Linked DNA regions of Homo sapiens: regions 2, 3, 4 and 5 are each linked to region 1. Evidence: promoter capture Hi-C in 16 types of primary human blood cells and fetal thymus (Javierre and others, 2016). All regions are on one chromosome and are shown on one strand. Each heading gives the region's core, a stretch centred on a gene start or on the middle of the fragment in contact. The rest is flanking DNA. Distances are from core to core; before and after follow the strand shown.

What was found. Contacts are between HindIII fragments. The CHiCAGO score rates a contact against its expected background, and 5 or more counts as called.
Region 2: a fragment that was not itself captured here is called in contact with the fragment with the promoter of MMS19 in region 1 in 1 of 17 cell types (neutrophils); the score reaches 6.5 in neutrophils.
Region 3: a contact is called between a fragment that was not itself captured here and the fragment with the promoter of MMS19 in region 1, in 3 of 17 cell types (M0 macrophages, M2 macrophages and M1 macrophages). The highest score is 6.6, in M0 macrophages.
Region 4: a contact is called between the fragment with the promoter of FRAT2 here and the fragment with the promoter of MMS19 in region 1, in 6 of 17 cell types (neutrophils, activated CD4 T cells, monocytes and 3 more). The highest score is 22.4, in neutrophils.
Region 5: a contact is called between a fragment that was not itself captured here and the fragment with the promoter of MMS19 in region 1, in 7 of 17 cell types (M0 macrophages, M2 macrophages, M1 macrophages and 4 more). The highest score is 12.2, in M0 macrophages.

What each region holds. Positions count from the first base shown.
Region 1 is chr10:97,497,132-97,499,754 of GRCh38, reverse strand. It overlaps MMS19 (MMS19 cytosolic iron-sulfur assembly component), which reads left to right and starts at 1,333. Exons shown (of 31, transcript NM_022362.5): 1 at 1,333-1,482. The coding sequence starts at 1,371. UBTD1 (ubiquitin domain containing 1) reads right to left here and starts at 831. Exons shown (of 3, transcript NM_024954.5): 1 at 482-831. The coding sequence starts at 551. RefSeq lists silencers at 212-411, 422-1,181 and enhancers at 1,422-1,591, 1,952-2,001, 1,678-2,208. The HindIII fragment of the contact is 10,400 bases long and covers 1-2,623 here.
Region 2 is chr10:97,742,317-97,744,939 of GRCh38, reverse strand. It overlaps ZFYVE27 (zinc finger FYVE-type containing 27), which reads right to left. Exons shown (of 13, transcript NM_001385875.1): 3 at 1,776-1,846; 4 at 25-211. Among named protein-coding and RNA genes, the nearest start is that of ZFYVE27, 6.5 kb to the right of the region's middle. The HindIII fragment of the contact is 7,063 bases long and covers 1-2,623 here.
Region 3 is chr10:97,724,510-97,727,132 of GRCh38, reverse strand. No RefSeq gene overlaps it. Among named protein-coding and RNA genes, the nearest start is that of ZFYVE27, 11 kb to the left of the region's middle. The HindIII fragment of the contact is 1,175 bases long and covers 729-1,903 here.
Region 4 is chr10:97,333,402-97,336,024 of GRCh38, reverse strand. It overlaps FRAT2 (FRAT regulator of Wnt signaling pathway 2), which reads left to right and starts at 1,296. Exons shown (of 1, transcript NM_012083.3): 1 at 1,296-2,623. The coding sequence starts at 1,453. The coding sequence ends at 2,154. It overlaps LOC105378448 (a long non-coding RNA gene), which reads right to left and starts at 1,179. Exons shown (of 2, transcript NR_188201.1): 1 at 1,054-1,179. RefSeq lists silencers at 728-1,077, 1,208-1,357, 1,448-1,597, 1,938-2,067, 2,078-2,127 and an enhancer at 1,678-2,585. The HindIII fragment of the contact is 20,442 bases long and covers 1-2,623 here.
Region 5 is chr10:97,652,944-97,655,566 of GRCh38, reverse strand. All of the region lies in intron 2 of PI4K2A (phosphatidylinositol 4-kinase type 2 alpha), which reads right to left. Among named protein-coding and RNA genes, the nearest start is that of PI4K2A, 14 kb to the right of the region's middle. The HindIII fragment of the contact is 617 bases long and covers 981-1,597 here.

The sequences.
Region 1 (2,623 bases), core at 84-2,583:
GCAAGTCGGATTCCCGCAGACACGATCTGCAGCTCGATAATGACACAGTCTTTGGAAGGAGCGACTGTTCTCGCCTCGCTCGCTCCGAGTTCTGGGGACGCCTGGCTGCCCGCGCCGTGCCCCGACGGGCCGGCGTCCGACCCCGGCCGGAGCTGCCAGGCCAGCGGCGCCCTCGCCCCCGGCCTCCTCCCGATCCGTCGGCCCCGCTGCGGTCTGCAAACATTTCCTGCCCCCACCCCCACCAGGAGCTACCCAGTTGGAGAGAGTTGGTCGCGCAGCCGGCTCAGTGCTCGCAGTTGCCCCAACTCAGCTCCCCCGGCCGCCCGGCGCTGGGGAGCGGCCCCCTCTGGCTGCGGAGCAGCCCATCGGGGAAACCCAAGCGCCAGCACCAGTGGGGAGTCCATCGGTAAGCCCAGGACTCGGGCGAGGAGGGGGACAACTGGCGGGATGCCCGAGGCCCTGCTCCCTTCCCCATCGTTACCTGCTCGCTTGCGGGGGTGTCCCGGGGCTGCCGGCCTCTCCCGGCGCTGTCTCCCCACGCAGTTGCCCATGCTGGCTCCTCAGCCAGTCCCCATGCACCGGAGGCGGCGGGGTGGTCGGCTGCTCAGCGGACGGCGGCGTCCCGGGTCAATGGCTCCGGCCGCCCGGCATCGGGCGCTCCCCGATCTCCCCCCGGGGGCGCGCTCAGCCCCAGCGATGGCTCCGCCAAAACTTTGCGGGCCAGGGGAGAGAGGGAAGTGGCAGACTCCCCAGCACGGTCCCAGGTGGCCGGGCCAGGGGGGCCCGCGACGGTGCCCGGCCGGAGACCAGCTCCGCTGGAGGGGCGGAGAGAGGGGGCGGGCACCGCCGCAGCTACTCCCGGCTCGCTCGGGGCACCAGGCAGGGGCCGGCCCCCTGGAGCCTGTCACTCACCTGCCTAACCCCGCCCCAGGCCGGCCCCTCTCCCTTCCGCCGGCTCGCGGTGCCCGCGCCGCCGCCACCACCCGCCCCAGGTGCGCATGTGACCGACAGCACCGCCCCCTAGGGCTGGGCCTGATTTTCTCATTGGCTTCCCCCGTGGTGCGTACCGCCCCTCTCCCCACCCAGCCAGGTGCCCGCCCCGCAGCCCGTCTCCCGGGGAGCCGGGCTGGGAATTATTCGCCCTCAATCGCCTCCGGCTGCGTGCCCAGCAGCCGCCTTCCCTCTCGGTGCCACCGCCCCATTTCAGGCCCCGCCCCTCCCTGGAACTGCCTAGGCAGAAGCCGGCAGGCACGTGACCCCGGCGCCCCGCCCCCTTGCGCTTCCCCGGAGATTGGCTCGGGAGGCGCATGCGCGGAGAGCCCGTCTCGAGCCACCGCCCATATCCCCTCCCACGGTCTCTAGTTCGCGTTATGGCCGCTGCCGCGGCTGTGGAGGCGGCGGCGCCTATGGGTGCCCTATGGGGCCTCGTGCACGACTTCGTCGTGGGTCAGCAAGAGGGCCCCGCTGACCAGGTGGCTGCAGGTACGGCAGACGGCGCCGCGCGCCTTCCGCATGGGGGCCAACAGGAGGGAGCGGCCTCAGTACAGGCGCCGGGCGGGAAGGGAGGAGCGGGGTGACTTTGAGAGATTGGTCTCAAGGCTGGTTAGTGAGCACCGCGAGGTTCAGAGCCGTAACAAGTTAGAGAGTTGCCTGTGTCTTCCTTAAAACCATTTACACTTCTCATCTCCCTGTAGCCAATTATAGGGAATCATTACATTTTACAGATGAGGAAACTGAGGCTCAGCGAGGGCAAGAGGACTTGCGCAGGGCTGCAGACCAGGCAGGAGGGGGAGGTGGGACTCGGACCCAGGCGTTCAGGTCCGAACCGGGTGCTCACGCCACGAAGCCATGCTGTTTGTGGGAGGTTGACGTGTGGAGGTGCATCCTCGCAGCGTCCGCTCCCGTCGCGTGGCATCCTGGGAGTGGCAGATGGCCCCGCGCTCTGACTGGCTGGAATTAAGAGGAGTTGAGGAGACGGGCCAGGAGGAGCTGGAGATGTTCTGGGTGTCCTCCTTAAGACTTTCTCTCCGTTTCTTGCTAAAGTTCTTGATTAGTTTGCTCCATGACGTTTTATGTGGCGTTTGTTTTTGTCTTCTTCCCAGACCCCCACTTTCCTGCTTTTGACCAGTTCAGAGATCTCTTAGTTCAGACAGCTTATCTAAAATTAGAATAAAACGATTTCCAGGCTTCCGTGGAGTTCTGAGACTTTGCTCTTCTAGGAAAAAAAAAAAACTACTAAAAAGTTATTGAATGTTAGGAGGCCTTCAGATCTTGGGTTTAAGTAACAATATAAAATTATCTAATGAGTAGTTTTTTTAAAAAAACTTTGGAAATTTCGTATGCTTGGAGAGAAGTAAGGACACATTTCTCTTGGATATTGAGCGTATTAACCTTTAGAATATGTAAGAAAAGAATAGTGAATCTGCTAGAAATATAATACTTTGTTCGTTAGCAGTATTCCACTTTAATTCAATCATGCCACTATTGTTGAATACATATTATTCCCCAAACATGATGCAAAGCAATAGGAATATAAATACAAATTAGGTTAGATCTGTGCCCACCAGGAACTTATAGTATGCTGGGAGAGGCAACCATTCTGTAAGAGGTGTGTGCAGCGTAG
Region 2 (2,623 bases), core at 80-2,579, 250 kb before region 1:
CCCTGGCCTCTCTTCCATACTCACAAGCTCTTCACCTCAGCCACGGCCTCGGGACGAGACAGGCGACCTCTCTGCAGGTCCTCCTGCCTCACGCTATGATACTTCCTCCGCATCAGCTCGGAATCAGGCAGCCGTGCCCGGCAAACCTCCTGAAGGTAGCCCAGCAGGGCGGGCACTGAAATCATCAGGGCACCTACTGAGTACCATGCACCTGCAGAATCAAAAACACTGCAGGTAACACAGGTAAGCAAAGACCAGGAGTCGGCCCACCCAGACGCCCACTGCTTGTTCCTCACCTCCTCCAGGGCTCTGCCAGTCAGGCCTTCCCTGATAGCTCTGTACGACACAGTGTCTCACCCCTACTCTCCAGCCCCCTTAACCCAGCTTCATTCCTCATAGACCTTATCACCACATGACACATTGCAGGCATGTCTGTTGTCTCCTCTAATGAAGTAAGCTCTTGAGGGCTGGGACTTTGTCCCTTTGGTCACTGCTGTGGCCCCATCCTCACTTTTAATACGTTTTAAGATGCTGCTAGCACAGAGGAGGCTCACGCTGGAGTGTGACTGCCAGGAGCTCCTGATGCCTGACACTCGGACCTCTGGGCCACTAAGGAAGCTAGAAGCCTTTCGTTCAGCTTTTAGGACACTGCAGACGATTGTGCCTTGAGAAATGGCGAAGCCGAGATAAAATTCAAAGAAAGAACTTCTTCCATGTAACATGGCACCCCAACAACAAGCTAACAGAGCAGCGGGCCCATAATAAATGCTTACTAAACATCTGTCATAGGAACTGACTTACTTTGGGAGCATATATAGAAAAATCAAACATCCTAGGAAGTTTTGAACAGGTAAAGATGAGTCCAACTAAGAAACAGAAAATGAGATCTTATATGAACTGGATTTATTTTCAACCTACTCAATCCCTATCTCCAGAGGAAACAAAGAAGACACCTGAGAAATACAAGGTAAGTAAAAGAACAAAAACATGAATAATGGCCCAGCTCCTCCAAACATTCTGTCCCAGACTCTTTATTCTCACCCTGAGGGGTTTGGCTTTTTATGTGGCCATCTGCCAGCGCCAACCACGGATAGGGTAGGGTCACGGTATGCACTGTAGTAAGAGGTTCATAGAAGACATTACCCATGACCCCAACAGACACCCATGTGTCCACACTTCTATCTCAAAGGCTTCATGCCACTCCTCACTGCTGGTGACTGCCCAGCAGCTCCCGTTAGGCTCACTAGCTGAACCAGAGAAAAGCAACAGATATGGCAAAAATCCCTTATCAGCTCCTCATCCCAGTACCTTTACTCATGCCATGTCCCCAGATGACCCTTGAATCAGCTTAAAAACCAAAATGGAAAAAGGTCAATGCATCCTCAGCAGGAAGTCAAGAAGGAAACAACGATAATACTGAGAGCAGCTACAATGCACTGGCTGCCTCTTCCACGCCAGGCACTGTGCTAAGTATTATGCCTAGACTGCCGCATTCCTCACAAATACTCTAGGAGGAAAGCGTCATTTTTATCCTCCCTCTAGAGGTAAGGAAAATTAGGCCTTAACAGGGAAGTTCAATAATCTGCCCAAGGTCACAGCAGGCAGCTCAGCCTGGATCGTCCCTCTGGAGGCTGTTTCTGACTCCAAGCAGACACAGAGGAACACTAACTCCAGGGCAACAAGAGCAGCTCCCACACATAGGGTGGGGCTGCATCCAGGTGTTCTTCCCCCACATTCGTTCACAAAAACCACTGGCCCCTGAAGGCAGTTCTTACCCTCATTCAAAGTGAGGAACAAGACGTTGAGGCCCAGGCAGGTCAGCAAGGAACACAAAGGCATCTGCCACCTACAATACAGAGAGTCCTGATCACTACAGAGAGTCACTCCTCCAGCTGGGGAGGGGAGACCAGGCAGCACAGACGGGACATCAAACCAGAAGAGGAGGCCTGGAACACAGAAGGTCAAGGAGAAACGAAAAGGGGGCCTCTCACTTGGACTGGTGACCAGGAGAGGCGGTAAGATGTCACACATTAGCACCTGGGGTGAGGAAACTGGTAGGTCTGTAGTGCTTTCTCCCAAAAGGAAGAAGAATTTATAAAATATCAGTTAAGAAACCCAGTTAATACCATTTAACCTGTGTTTTGTAAGGTTGTATTCTCCTTAAGAGGTGACACTGACAAATGTTCTTAATATTTTCCTCTATTCTTTTTTTATAATTTCATAAGAATATATAATCATTGCACAAGATTCAACTAATACAGAAATCAAGAAAAAACAAATTGTGGACTTCTTTGGCCCCATTTGTGCCTTTATCTTCTTATGTCCATGTTTTTGAAAATTTGAGAGTTTATCTGAGAGTTTATTTTGAATACCTATTAATTCAAAAAGAGAAACAATAGTAAAGATTTTATTTTAATATATTAAAAATCAAGATGAAAGTAGGGTGCAGCATTCACTTAGCAATCACACCTTAAGTGAGCTGGAACAGACAGAAGCAAACACAGATACATCACTGCCACCACCACCACCACCACCAAATGGCAATGCAGAAGCCCCCAAACAGGGAACAAGGAAGACCAGAGACTCAGATTGCTGAGAACAAGCAAATGCTGCTGGCTCCGTC
Region 3 (2,623 bases), core at 67-2,566, 230 kb before region 1:
ACTCATGAGTAATGAGTTTTCCAGCTGTGAGACAGTGGTTGTTGGACAAACACAGCAAGGAAATGACTGTCTGCAGTTACATTCTTACTCAACAGCTCTTGGCAGCCATGAAAACAACCATTCATCAAACACTGGCACTAAAAGAGTTCACAGAGCAAGGCAATGAAAACTTCAGCAATAAAACCTTGTGCCTCCCTTGAAAGCGACGATTAACTGTCCACCAAAAAGTCCTGTGCCCCCTACCATGATATAGAGTTGTTGCTACGCAGCAGCTGCCTGGCTAGGGACTACATTTCCCAGCATCCTCTGCTTATAGGTCAGGTCCTGTTACTCCCAAGGAGGTGAGTGGGAGCGCTGACTGTTACTTCTAGATGAAGGTATGCAGGAAGCAGGAAACCTTCTCCTGCCTCTCCTCCCTCACCTGCGAGCTCAGTGCAGAGCAGATGGCCGAGCCACGGGGTGGAAGGAGCCTGGGTCCTTGAGTCACCGTATGGTGGAGCGTCTCCCTCTGCCCCAGAGTAGCCACAGTGCACAATTATGTGAGGAAGAAATAGATTTGTATATGAATAACAAATAGATTTTCATTATATGAAACTGCTGAAATGCTGAGGTGTATTTGTTATAGCAGCTAGCCATCAGCATTTATTCATTCCACCAAATGACTACGTATCATGTGCCTTTCATGGGATTATAGAGATGAAGAGCCTGGAATTCTTTCCTGAAAAGCTTACAGCCTAGTGGGACAGACAGACACCCTGAATAAGTATACCACCAATGGGAGAGCAGTACGTGACCCACCAAAAAACCTGAATACACCAACTATCATTTACAAACTTGAAAGAATTAAAAATAAAAAGAAATAAAAATGTAAAACCCAAAAGGCATCAGGCCCAGATTTATTTCATAGACAAATTTTATCGAACCCATTTTTTTTTTTCTGAGGCGGAGTCTGTCTCTCTCTGTTGCCCAGGCTGGAGTACAGCGCGATCTCGGCTCACTGCAACCTCTGCCTCCTGGGTTCAAGCAGTTCTCCTGCCTCAGCCTCCCGAGTAGCTGGGACTACAGGCACCTGCCATCACAACCAGCTAATTTTTCTGCTTTTTTGGAGAGGTAGGGTTGGTCTCTACTAAACTTAATGGTCTAGTAAATAAATACATAAAGATGTATTTATTGAACACTTGTTGACCAGGCTAGTCTCGAACTGCTGACCTCAGGTGATTTGCCCCCCTTGGCCTCCCAAAGTGCTGGGATTACAGGCATGAGCCACCGTGCCAGCTAGAACCCATTTTTTAAAATGATATAGTTAAACTATTCCAGAGCATAGAACAGTATGAAAAACTTCCTAATTTAGTCTGTGAGTCCAGAATCACCCCCTCTGTTACAAATCCCAAGCAAGAACACACACACACACACACACACACACACACACACACACACACACCAGATTTCATCTGGGGTATAGACAATTTTAAAATAATAAAAACAATAAGCCTACCACACAAATGAGCCATTCCACTGCTAGCTGTCTACCCAAAATAAATTAAAGCATATGTGTCCACACAAAGACGTGTACATGAACGTTCAAAGCAGCTATATTTGCAATAACCAAAAATTTGAAACAACACAAATGTCCATCAACAGGCTAAACAAATTATAGTGTATCTGTATATTCACTCAGCAATGAAAATGAACTACTGTTACTGCAACATCATGAATGAATCTCAAAATAATTAAGCTGAGTGAAAGAAGCCAGATACCGCCCTCTCCCAAAAGGAGCACATACTATACATTTCATTTATATAAAATTCTAGAATTCTATAATCATAGAAAGCAGATCAATGGTTCCCTGGTGTGGGGGAGATGGGAAGGAAAGAAGAGGGAGTACAAAGAGCACAGGGAAGCTTTTGGACATTATGAATATGTTTTCTTTCTCTTTTTTTTTTTTTTTGAGACAGGGTCTTGCTGGAGTGCAGTGGCATAATCATAGCTCACTGCAACCTCAAACTCCTGGGCTCAAGTGAGCCTCCTGCCTCAGCCTCCATAGTGGCAGTAAGCTGAGATCACTCCATTGCACTCCAGCCTGGGTGACAAGAGTGAAACTCCGTCTCAAAAAAAAAAAAAAAAACACACACACACACACACACAAGAAAGAATTCAAGAAAGAACAGTAGACACCAATGAGAAAGAAGGATTAGCCAAGGCTGGTGAGATTATCATTCCTTAGGTGCAGGGAGACCCAGAGTGGAATGGGGCAGGAGGGAGTTCACATTTATGAGCACTAACTATGACTGTGGGTCAGGCGTTGAGCCCAGCATTTTATGTATATCTTATGAAATCCTCCCAACAAACATATACTGCTGAGGGCTGAATTGCACTGATGAAATTGCCAGGCACGCCTCATCTCATGAAGCTCTTTCAACAGCCCAGTGAGGTAGGTACTAATATTATCCCCATTTACTAAGTGAGGAAGCTAAGAGGCAAAGAGGTTTCATAAATTGCCTAAGACTGGACAACTAATAAGAGATAGAGCTCACCTCTGACATCACAGCCTGAGCTCACCCAAAAATTAGAACGAGTCATGCTAACTGCCTGGGAGACACAAAAGGAGACAGAACAGAGTACA
Region 4 (2,623 bases), core at 47-2,546, 160 kb after region 1:
TGTGAACCATGAGAGATTTTTTCCATCCCTTATATTTTTCTTTTTTTTTTTGAGACGGAGTCTCGCTTTGTTGCCCAGGCTGGAGTGCAGTGGCGTGATCTCGGCTCACTGCAACCTCCGCCTCCAGGGTTCAAACCATTCTCCTGCCTCAGTCTCCCGAGTAGCTGGGATTACAGGCGCCCGCCACCACGCCCGGCTAATTTTTGTATTTTTAGCAGAGATGGGGTTTCACCATGTTGGCCAGACTGGTCTGGAACTCCTGACCTCAGGTGATCCGCCCGCCTCGGCCTCCCAAAGTGTTGGGATCACAGGCATGAGCCACCCACCGCTCCTGGCCAATCCCCTATATTTCTATTTGAACCTTAAAAAAAAAAAAAGACCCTTCTTTAGCCGAGCGGCGGTGAGTCCTATTCTCATGATATGTCCGGGGGCTTGAAGACTGCGGGAGGGAAAGCCTCTGGGACCTCACCTCAGAGCGATTCTGCTCTGCTTCAAAGCGTCCCCTCTTAGGCCGGGCGCGGCGGCTGACGCCAGTAACCCCAACACTTTCGGAGGCCGAGGAGCGAGGACTCCTTGAGCCCAAGAGTTCGAGACCAGCCTGGGCAATATAGTGAGACCCCCCCCCCCCACCACCGTCTCTACAAAAAAAATTTTTTTAATTAGCCAGGCGTGGTGGCCGCGCCTGTGGTCCCAGCTGCTCCGGAGGCTTAAAGTGGGATGATTACTTAAGCCAGAGTTCGAGGCTGCAGTCAGCCGTGTTCGCGCCACTATACTTCAGCCTGGGCGACAGAGACCTTTTCTAAATAATAAATAAGTAAATAAGTAACGTGCCGCCTCTTCACTCCCAATTCCCTCCGCCTTTCCCCGCCCCGCCTCGTCGAAGCCGGACCCGCGGCGGCCCGCCCCTCCCCCACGACCAGGGCCGGGAACTGCGGGTGCGCGGGGCGGGAGTCGGGCGGGCTTAGGCGCGGCCGACACGTGGGGAGGGAGGCCGCGGCCCAGGAGGCGGGCCCGGAGTGGGTGTGGGTGTGTCCGTGCGTGGGAGAAACCAACCTCAGCCTCCTCCGAGGCGCCACGTTTCAGCACGGCTCGTTGGGCCCGGGAGGTCGGAAATCAGTCCCCACGCCCCGGACCCCCTCCTGGAGGGACAACGAACACAGGCGCGGGACGGCTTCGGTCACCGCCCGCGCCGCCCTTTGCCCCCGTGCCTGCTCGCGCGTCACCCCCGCCCCGGTGCGGTGGTAGGGCCCGGCGCGACGTCACCCATTGTTTACAAATCAACCCGAGCCGGCAGGATTCCGGCTCCAGCGGCTGCAGGCGCGTGGCTCGAGTGCCTGGCGGGCTCCGGCTTCCGCGTCCGCCCCTGCTCCGGCTTCGCCCGCAGCTCCGCGCCCGCGGGCAACCAAGCCCCCAGCGAAGCCCGCACAGCTCCGGGTGCCAGGACGGGGGGCCATGCCGTGCCGGAGGGAGGAGGAAGAGGAAGCCGGCGAGGAGGCGGAGGGGGAGGAAGAGGAGGACGACAGCTTCCTCCTGCTGCAGCAGTCGGTGACGCTGGGCAGCTCGGGCGAGGTGGACCGGCTGGTGGCCCAGATCGGCGAGACGCTGCAGCTGGACGCGGCGCAGGACAGCCCGGCCTCGCCGTGCGCGCCCCCGGGGGTGCCGCTGCGGGCCCCGGGGCCCCTGGCTGCGGCGGTGCCGGCGGACAAGGCCCGGCCCCCGGCGGTGCCGCTGCTGCTGCCGCCCGCTTCGGCTGAGACGGTGGGCCCGGCGCCCTCTGGGGCCCTGCGCTGCGCCCTAGGGGACCGCGGCCGCGTGCGCGGACGCGCTGCGCCCTACTGCGTGGCGGAGGTCGCCGCAGGCCCCAGCGCGCTGCCGGGGCCGTGCCGGCGAGGATGGCTCAGGGACGCGGTCACCTCCCGCCGCTTGCAGCAGCGCCGATGGACCCAAGCCGGGGCACGCGCCGGCGACGACGACCCGCATCGGCTCCTCCAGCAGCTCGTGCTCTCGGGAAACCTCATCAAGGAAGCCGTGCGGAGACTCCAACGAGCCGTCGCCGCGGTTGCAGCCACGGGCCCCGCAAGCGCCCCTGGGCCCGGGGGAGGCCGCAGCGGACCTGACCGCATTGCCCTGCAGCCCTCAGGCTCCTTGCTCTGACGCAGGCCTCCTGGAGGAGGAAGTGGAGGCCGCTGCGTAGACCCAACAGCGTCCAGTTCCTACTAACTCTGAGCTGAAGCCGACGTCGCCAGCCTGGGAGCGACCACTTTGGCTGCGGGGAGGCGCGTGGGGAGAGATCTCAACCAGAGAAGTTACCAGCCGCGGCGAGGCCGTCGGAGAAAACTTAAGCGTGGAGAAATGTATGCGCCAGGGTGCTTCCGTGGGGCATGAGAATTTCCCGGGCCATCCAAGCCCAAGGACCTGGGATAAACTGGGAGAACTATGGCAGCTACTTGCATCGACTTGTACCTCACTTAGCCCTTGGGGGCGTCGTGAGCTTGGATTGTTTAAGGAGGGCTCAGGGGTAGGAATCGCGATGGCTTTATAACAATACTTGAAAACTAACGACACGCATACATTTTCTTATTTTCTGGTGGAGGAGCTTAGTAAGTGGTGCTACAATTGCTGT
Region 5 (2,623 bases), core at 40-2,539, 160 kb before region 1:
TACAATCCAATTGTATTAAACCACTTAGATTTAAGGGTTGTTACAGCAGCTAGTATGAAGTACAAGGATTAACACTGTCATCTCCTGGGTTAGATTAGGCCAAATGCCCATCTTCTTTCCAGAGACAAACAAGTTGCAATTTACTCTGTACCCCTTCATTTCCTTTTGAAAAAAAATTTTTTTTTTTTTTTTTTTTTGAGACAGAGTCTCACTCTGTTGCCCAGGCTGGAGTGCAGTGGCACAGTCTCGGCTCACTGCAACCTCCAAGTCCCGCATTCAAGCAATTCTCATGCCTCAGCCTCCCAAGTAGCTGGGATTACAGGTGTGTGCCACCACTCCTGGCTAATTTTTGTATTTTTAGTAGAGAGAGGGTTTCACCATGTTGGCCAGGCTGGTCTTGATCTCCTGACCTCAGGTGATCCTCCTACCTCGGCCTCCCAAAGTGCTGGGATTACAGGCATGAGCCACTGTGCCCGGGCCCTTTTGAATTTTTTTACTTTGTGAAATTATTCGTATTCAAAACACAAACATTAAAATTGGTTTTCATTTTAATTAACTGCTATTTTTATGTATAGGCTATACACTGTAATCCTGGCTGCCTCTGAGGAAGGAAACTGAATGGCCAGGAGATAGGGGTAGCAGGGAGTCTGAATTACTTTTCTCTGTTTACCCTATGTGCCTTCTGATTTTTATACTAGATGCATGCATTACTTATTCTAAAAAAAATTTTTATGAGCCATCAATATTATACTTAAGTCAAATTGCAGTGACGTAATTGTAATCCACATATGCATCTATTGTCACACTTATCACATTGTCTTGTAATTATCCATTTGTATATCTAACTCCTCCTTTAAAATGAATGAGATTTGAGGAAGCGGAGAACATCTTATTTATATTAGCATCCACAGCACCTAACACAGTAGCTGGCATATGCTCATTAAATATTTATTAAGTGAATGAAGAATGAGTTACAAGCTTCTTTCAGAGACAGCAACAAGTGAGTTTTAGCATATAAATACCTAAAATCAAACTTATAAGAAAGGTATTTTCCTAAGCCTTGTAAAATTTATTACAAATAACTATTTTTTTTCCCATGAACCTGAGAGGCAAAATAACTGCCTCTCATCTATCGCTCCATGCTACCATCTAGTATTAATAGACTACCTAAAATGGATGTGCATGGTACTGTAGTAGGCACTCCCTGCCTTACAAATCAGAAAACTCAGGCATAGGAATGAAGGAAAAAGAGCTTTCCTAAGGCTACCTTGCCAGTGTCCACAGTGAAACTCCTGGCTCTCTCAAGCCATAAATCCCCTTTTGCCCCCATCATATTTATTTTCTATCATTCTTCCTAACAAACCACTTTTTCCCCATGACTAATGAAACTATCATAACCTGAAACCTCATAGGAGCAGAGAGCAGAGACAGCCAGTGAGTGAGAATTAGAGCCTTACCATTTGAAGTTCCAATGCAATGTGAACCTTGTTTCTATAATGACAGATGCTCTGATCAACTGGATAGAGTCCTGTCACAAGAGTTGGGGAGACAGGGAGAGGAGTCCTCTTACTATTCTCCAGCAGCTATATGTTAAGCTTCCAAAGTTCTGTCTCATCTCAGTCTCATGGAAGACAAGTATTTTTTTTTTTTGAGACGGAGTCTCGCTCTGTTGCCCAGGATAGAGTGTGGTGGCACAATCTCAGCTCACTGCAACCTCTGCCTTCCAGGTTCAAGCGATTCTCCTGCCTCAGCCTCCCAAGTAGCTGGGATTACAGGCACGCACCACCATGCTCAGCTAAGTTTTGTATTTTTAGTAGAGACAGGGTTTCACCCTGTTGGCCAGGCTGGTCTCGAACTCCTGACCTGAGGTGATCCACCCACTTAGGCCTCCCAAAGTGCTGGGATTACAGGCGTGAGCCAATGAGCCCAGCCAAGACAAGTATTTTTGTTGTTGCTGACTTTCTGATGCAAAAGATCCTCAGGCCTCGTGAAGGTTCTCTAACAGGGAAAGAGGAAGACCAAAGATAGGGACGAAAGGGATTGTGGGGGTGACACTAACGATTAGAATAGCTGATAAAAATATCACAGGCTAACATATGGAGGGTTTACGTTGTGCCTGGCACTCACTCAGCTATGTGCTTCATATAGGCTGTCTTGTGTAATATTGATGGCCACTCTACAAAGTAGGAACTATTTATATCCCTATTTTTACAGTAAGGAAACTGAGCCTAGGGAGGTTACATGACTTGCCCAAGTGTTACACAAATCAAAAACTGCAGAGCAAGAATTCAAACTCAAGTCCTCTGATTCTTGGGCACCACACTCCAGAAGCACCAACAGAGCAGGTAGGCATAGAGCCAGACACGGTCTGCTATTTGCCTAGTAAAGGAAGAAAACTATAGAGTGATAAGCAAGGAGAATGTAAAAGTTTCTAGAGTCTAAGAGGAGCCTAGTAGAAGCATTTCAGGTTAGGAGACTTAAGAACATTAATTATCATACAAGATGTTCAAAGCATGCTGTAAAACTATCTGCACAGAGAGGGAAAAGTAAGGCATAAAGAGAAGGAATGAGCTGTACAAAGCCAGGCAGTGAATTAGATGTGAAATGGGAACTAGAAGCCTGG